Linked DNA regions of Homo sapiens: region 1 is linked to region 2. Evidence: promoter capture Hi-C in 16 types of primary human blood cells and fetal thymus (Javierre and others, 2016). All regions are on one chromosome and are shown on one strand. Each heading gives the region's core, a stretch centred on a gene start or on the middle of the fragment in contact. The rest is flanking DNA. Distances are from core to core; before and after follow the strand shown. Region 1 overlaps PTK2 (protein tyrosine kinase 2). Region 2 holds the start of GPR20 (G protein-coupled receptor 20).

What was found. Contacts are between HindIII fragments. The CHiCAGO score rates a contact against its expected background, and 5 or more counts as called.
Region 1: a contact is called between a fragment that was not itself captured here and the fragment with the promoter of GPR20 in region 2, in 1 of 17 cell types (monocytes). The highest score is 6.4, in monocytes.

Annotation. Positions count from the first base shown.
Region 1 is chr8:140,833,219-140,836,423 of GRCh38, forward strand. The region is part of intron 7 of PTK2 (protein tyrosine kinase 2); the gene reads right to left. Among named protein-coding and RNA genes, the nearest start is that of MIR151A, 100 kb to the left of the region's middle. The HindIII fragment of the contact is 1,425 bases long and covers 600-2,024 here.
Region 2 is chr8:141,365,883-141,369,112 of GRCh38, forward strand. It overlaps GPR20 (G protein-coupled receptor 20), which reads right to left and starts at 1,404. Exons shown (of 2, transcript NM_005293.3): 1 at 1,319-1,404. RefSeq lists an enhancer at 2,167-2,716 and a silencer at 3,081-3,230. The HindIII fragment of the contact is 50,298 bases long and covers 1-3,230 here.

The sequences.
Region 1 (3,205 bases), core at 62-2,561, 530 kb before region 2:
GTTTAGGTTTTCTTAAACTTCTTTTGACTAATAATGAATTTGTAACGTTTGTCCATATGTTAGAACTTTTTTGATACCTGGCAGTTGAGAAAATAAAAATGAGGCTCAAGTACACAAGGTCATGGTAAAAATTCTGCAACGCTGCCTTTAACACATTTTAATTTAATCTCGAAATCAAACTACTTCAGGTTTTGTGATAGAGGACTCTGAGCCCACCTAAGGTACTATGTTCAAAGTTTTTAGGGAAAGCCTATTATAGATATCTAAATTTAAAGCCTTAGGAAACCAAACAGGGACTTGTAGGCTGTCCCATTTTTAATATGAGGTCGCCTCTCTCCATGATCTGTGTGTTTGGGACTGGTTTACAATGTGCACTCTAATCAGCAGTAGTTTTGCCTCAAGTGGCGTAAAAACCTTCTTTGAGCCCAAACTCTACACAACTGTCCTGTATGCGAATAAAACAACAAATACAACTTACACATCATCAACAAAATATAATTACTAACCTTTATCATACAATAATTCCTTACTATATTAACTGTCAAAGGATATGTCCTAAATGCATTTAAACTCATGTAATAAAAAACTAACTCACATGAAGCTTTTAGAATATTGCCAAACCCCAATTCCCAAACCCAAGCATCAGTTTATTAGATTCCCACATCAGTTCAGAGAAACCTCTTGAACCCATACACAGATGACAAGACACTAATATTAGGTTAGAACTGTGTTGTCCAATATACAACCGCTAGTGATATGTAGCTATTTATACTTACATTAGTTGAATTAAATTAAAAATTCTGTTCCCAACTGCAATGCTCATCACATTTCAAGTGATGAGCAGTCCCATGTGGCTAGAGGCTACCAAACTAGGTGGGGCAGTCACAGAACAGTTCCATTGTCGCAGAAAGCTGCAATGGGTGGGGCTGGGCCAGAGCAATGAATCTAGGACTTCAGCCACCCTCATTCTCTAGGGCTTGGTGCTGTGGGCCCAAAGGCTCCTCAGTAAGCACAGGGATGGGTGAAATGCATGAGCACTGGGAATAGGTGCAGAGTTACCACAGGGACAACCACTCAAGGTTCTTGCCTTGCTCAGAAAGACTGGGGAAAGAAGGTATAGAGGCATGAGGAGAGAGCTCTACCATGACAATGCAGAAGGCAGCAGATCTCACAGGAGACAGCTGTATGTTAAGAAGCCTTTCGTTGGGACTGCTTGTATATACATAGCAGAGGGCTTCTAAGTATTACCTTTCCTACTTCTCTCTCAGGACTAACAAAAACGGTTTCTATGATCTATTCACTAAGATTCAAATCATTTAGATTTGAAGCTACAAAGAAAAGAGAGGCTGTATTCATTTACTCCCTCACTGAGACCATATGACATACTAGGCACTATAACAGATCATGGGATAGAAAAATCGCTAATATGTTTCCTTTTCTTAAGTGAGATAATTACATAAACAACTAACTACAACACAGTGTGAAAGGTACTATAAGATAAGAGTTTAAAACCAATACACTTAGCCATCGAGATTTAAGGTTTTTCTGGCCAATTTTAAACAGAACTCTCTTAATGTTTAACTGACCTCTATCCTTTAAGTGAAAGATTTAGAACACTGCTGACTGATATGGTCTTCTTTCTCTTTTGCTAAACCTCAGAATCCCATTTAACACTCCACTGATTCCTGTTGCCATTTAGCATTTTTGGAAAATCCTTAGAGAGCTCTGCCCTCCCACATTCCTGCATGATGACTATGCACCTCCTCATATTCCTCCTTTCACACCACAGTGGCCATCCAGAATGCTGCAGGAAAAGAGGCTGTGTAGGAGGGCCTCTCCCCACCTGCACCAGCTGACTGCCATCAGCATTCCCCACTCACTGAGATGAATCCTCTAGGTGCCCATCTAGTCCCAGCCTGTGGCCTTATCCTGCACGTGTATTCATATCCACAAATTCATAACACAGCTGGCTTTTAGAAGCCTCAGATGGGAATCAACTTTCTTTACATATTAAAAAGAAACTAAGCTTATTATAAGCACATTTTTAAGTCAAGGATAAATTTATTTCTCTTCTGGCAATATTTCTGAGAAGATTCTTGTCTGTTGACCCTGTTTAATATTTTGTGAACATAATCCCTCAAATACTTAAAACCCAGGCAAAAATGCAGCCAAAACTAACTTCAAATATAACTTAAATAGGCATTTCCATGTAGTAACTCTTACTCTTTCTCCAAAACTGTCAGAATTGAGTATATTTAATTTAGAAATAGTATGGTGGTACTTTCACCTCTAAATTATACTCAAGCTTCTTAACAGACAAATGTTAAAATTATCTAACTGCAACAGAGATTGCTGTTTCTTAATGACATTCTCCCCTTCATCCTGGGGATGAAGTTGTCTTTTGGCCAGGTAAAGTGCTGCCTTCCCCAGTCTCTTCTGTAGCAGGTATGGCTATGCGACTATGTTTTCTCCTATGTCCCTCTAAGGGAAAGTATTAAACAGCAGGTTCATAAATAATGTCATTATTATGTAATGTTGTTTCATTATAGTGTTGATGAGAAAAAAAATTGATTCCCAGCTGGGCCACTATATGGAGTGTGCATGTTCTCCCTGTGTCTGTGTGGGGTTTCTATGGTTACTCCACTTTCCTCCCACATCCCAAAGATGTGCATGTTAGGGGAACTGGTGTGTCTGAATTGTCCCAGGATGAGTGAGTATGGGGTTGGGGGAGTGAGTACTCCCTGTGACGAGAATGGCATCCTGTCCAAGGCTGGCTCCTGACCTGCATCCTGAGCTGCTGGGATAGGGTCCAGCCACCCACGACCCTGAACTGGAATAACTGGGTAAATAATTATCTGGTTTTTTTTTTAATCAGACTTTTTAAAATGTATGCTTACATTTATTCCAATGTTTAATATTAGAAGTGTTTTGGGTCTCTACTTAGAAGCTGGGGATGTTTTTGTGACGAGAAACATTCCACAAGAACTTAACTCTTGTTTATATCAATTAGCCCACGGTAAAACTGGTTTCACTTTATGTCGTTTCACTTATAGTTTCCAGGAACCTATTGATGTTAAGTGAAGACTTACTGTATACACGTTTGTGTCCTTGAAAAGAAAAAGAGAATGCCCATCTCTTCCTCCTTCCTGGGGACTAGAATACATACGTGGTGATGAGTGATGTTCAGCAGCCTCTTAGGCTATGA
Region 2 (3,230 bases), core at 154-2,653:
CCACGCGCAGTTCCCTATGTCCCTGCTTTCCTGTTCGCTGTGCTTCCCTCACTGAACTGGAGTGCCTCAGGGGCCCTGGCCTTGGCTGGCCCCTCTGAGTCACTGAGTCACTGCTGAGTGATGGAGTGGATGATTTTAGAATACCCCTCTGATCTCCTTGAGCCTCAGTTTCCTCATCTATAAAGAGGAGATGCTAATACCACTTAACAAGAAGACAATGAAGCCACCCCGTGGGCTCCAGGAGCTGCTCAGAAATGGTCCAAACTGCATGGCCCCCACGCCCGGCTCTCCAGCCGCAGACCCCGCCTTTGCTGATGGGCCCACACCGTGTGGCTCAGAGAGGGGCAGCGACTTGCCACGGCCACTCAGCAGACCGCCCTGGAGCCCAGCGACTGGATGAGTCCTGGGGGGAGAGGGGAGGGAAGACCCAGGATGACCAGCTGTTGAAGGAAGAAGACAGGGCAAGTGGACAGGCCCAGCCTCCTGCGGGGTGCATTCCCCGTCCTGCGAGGTCGCCAGCTGCTCCACGTCTGCCCCGCCAGCACCCTGGCTGCTGGCCAGTTCCCAGCCCGCTGCCCCCTCGGGACCCTGTCCTGCCGCCTTCTCACAGCGCAGTCCCAGTGCGAGCTTCGCGGGGCTGGAGCCAGCTTCTAGGTCCACACTGAGGGCTGGCAAGCAAGCCTTCCCTGGGACTCAGTTTCCCCACCCCTAAGGGGTAGAGACAGCACCAAGGCTACTGCAGAGGGCCTGAGCTGTGGGATGGCAGGACGGGCACTCTGAAGAGGGAGCATGGCGCTTGGAGCCCATGCCCACAAAGCCCTCACCATGGCCCTGCCCCAGCTGCGGGGTGGTGGTGGCTGAGGCCCCAGAGCCTGCCAAGTGCCTCTGGGGTCCCCCAACTCTGTCCCTGGCTTGGCCTGTGGGCCACCCTGCTGCCTTGCCAGGTGGGGAAACCAAGACCCAGCTCTGGGCACCCAGCAGATGCTCGGTGAGTGTTGAACGGAGGGATGAATGAGTGAATGAATGAAATCCAGAGTTGGGTGGGCACCTAGCAGCGCAGCTCCCCCTTATGCAGCCAGCCCAACTCACGCCCATGTTCTCCCTCAGGTCTCTGTTTTCTCATCTGAGAAATGGCTCCCTGTCCAGCAGGACCTGCTCTGAGCTCTCCCCAGCCCGGATCTGGAGGCAGTTTCTCTGCCCTGCCCTTCCCACTCCTGCTTGGCTGGGGGTGAGAACCCCTGCAGGGAGCAGCTCAGGAGCCTCCTATCTAGGGAAGCTGGGGAGAGGGAGGCTGGGGCCAGCCCACAGGGGAACTTACCGCGCTTCACCCGGGCAGGCTGGAGATGGGAGTCCTCAGCTCTCAGCTCTGCATGCAGCCCGGACCTCGCCTTCCTACGGCCTGACGTCAGGCCAGCGCTTGGGGCTCCTTTTGGGCAAAGGCAGGGTGGGGGCGGGGCAGGCTCCTTCCCCGCCCCCAGGAGGAGTCAAGGCTCAGAGCCTGAGGGACGGTGCCTGGGGCACCAGAGTCCCCACACCCACTGGAGACAGAAGAAGAAACCGAGGCACAGAGGGGCCTGGGGCACCAGAGTCCCCACACCCACTGGAGACAGAGGGGGAAACTGAGGCACCGAGGAGCTGAGCCTCAGCTGCACCATCCAGGAGGTGGTGGCTGGCACTTGTGTGTGCCGTGTGCAGGGCAGGAGGTGGGAAACTGAGGCACGGAGGGGCTAAGCCTCAGCTGCACCATCCAGGAGACAGTGGCTGGCACTTGTGTGTGCTGTGTGCGGGGCAGGAGGGGGAAACTGAGGCACGGAGGGGCTGAGTCTCAGCTGCACCATCCAGGAGATGGTGGCTGGCACTTGTGCGTGCTGTGTGCGGGGCAGGAGGGGAAAACTGAGGCACAGAGGGGCTGAGTCTCAGCTGCACCATCCAGGAGACGGTGGCTGGCACTTGTGTGTGCTGTGTGGGGGGCAGGAGGGGGAAACTGAGGCACGGAGGGGCTGAGTCTCAGCTGCACCATCCAGGAGATGGTGGCTGGCACTTGTGCGTGCTGTGTGCGGGACAGGAGGTGGGAGCACACGAAAGCCCAATTTCCTTCCCGGGAGGGGGCATGTGCATGGTAGCTTCAGCCCACGCAAGCCTGGGTTCCTGCATGGCTCTCTGTTTTGCATGTGTCCTGGGTTTGGCTGTGTCTGTGTGTACCCATGACCGACAGCCTGCACACCTGGCATCTGGGCCTCTGTTTGCACCCATGCACCGGTGGCATGTGGCATGTGGGGTCAGGTGTGTGGGAAAGACCTGGACGTGACCCAGGCCAGCAGGTGGGGAGAGCGTGTGGGACCCGGACCTCAGTGCTGGAGGAAGCGTGAGCTCATCAACAGGCTTGATCCCAGAGGGCTGCTGGAGGGCCACTCTCCCCAGACAGCTTCAGAGCCAGGAGGCCTTGTGGCCAGCCTGGGGTGGCAGCGGGGGTTGTCGGGGAGCGGTTGGGGCCATTTAGTTAGTGTCTCCTCTGCCGAGAGCACCATCTCCTCTTGTTCCCATCCCGTGTGCTTCTGCTGATACTCACACTTTAACCTTCCAGCCGCCTGAGTGCCGAGGCCCTGCTGAGTGGGTTGTACTGCACACCGGAGACTCAGGGAAGGCTCCCCAAGGGAGGGGCTGGGCCTTCCCGAGCTCAGGCTGGTTGTAATGCAGACCAACAGGAGAGAGTAGGTGGGCCCTAGGGTCCTGACCCAGCCTGCTGGGGAGGGATGCCGTCTGGGAAGGCTTCCTGGAAGGGGCAGAGGGAGGTATAACAGGAGGCAGGCAGCCCAGATGGGCAGAGGGACAGGAGGCCATCAGAATATTTCCTGGGGAGCAAAGCTGGGAGTGGGCAGGGGACTTCTACACTGAGTCTCAGCAGCCTCTATGGGTACCAGAGTGCTGCAACAGGGAGCCATTGAAAGTTCTGGGAGAGGATGGTTTCTTCACTCTGGAGCAGCCTCCCTGCGGCTGCAGGGCTGAGCCCACAGGCTGCAATTATCTCCTTTAGAACATCGTTGTGTCTGTTTTAGCTGGGGAAACTGAGGCCCAGAGAGGCACAGGAGTCTCTGGCCACCAGCCTCTTGCACCTCTCTGGACCAGGACTGGCTCCTGGCAGGCAGGGTTTCACCGGGCTTGTGGAAGGTGGGGGTGGATGCAATGTCATTTTTGTGTGGGGGTGGCCTGGAGGCAGCCCAGATTGGGCA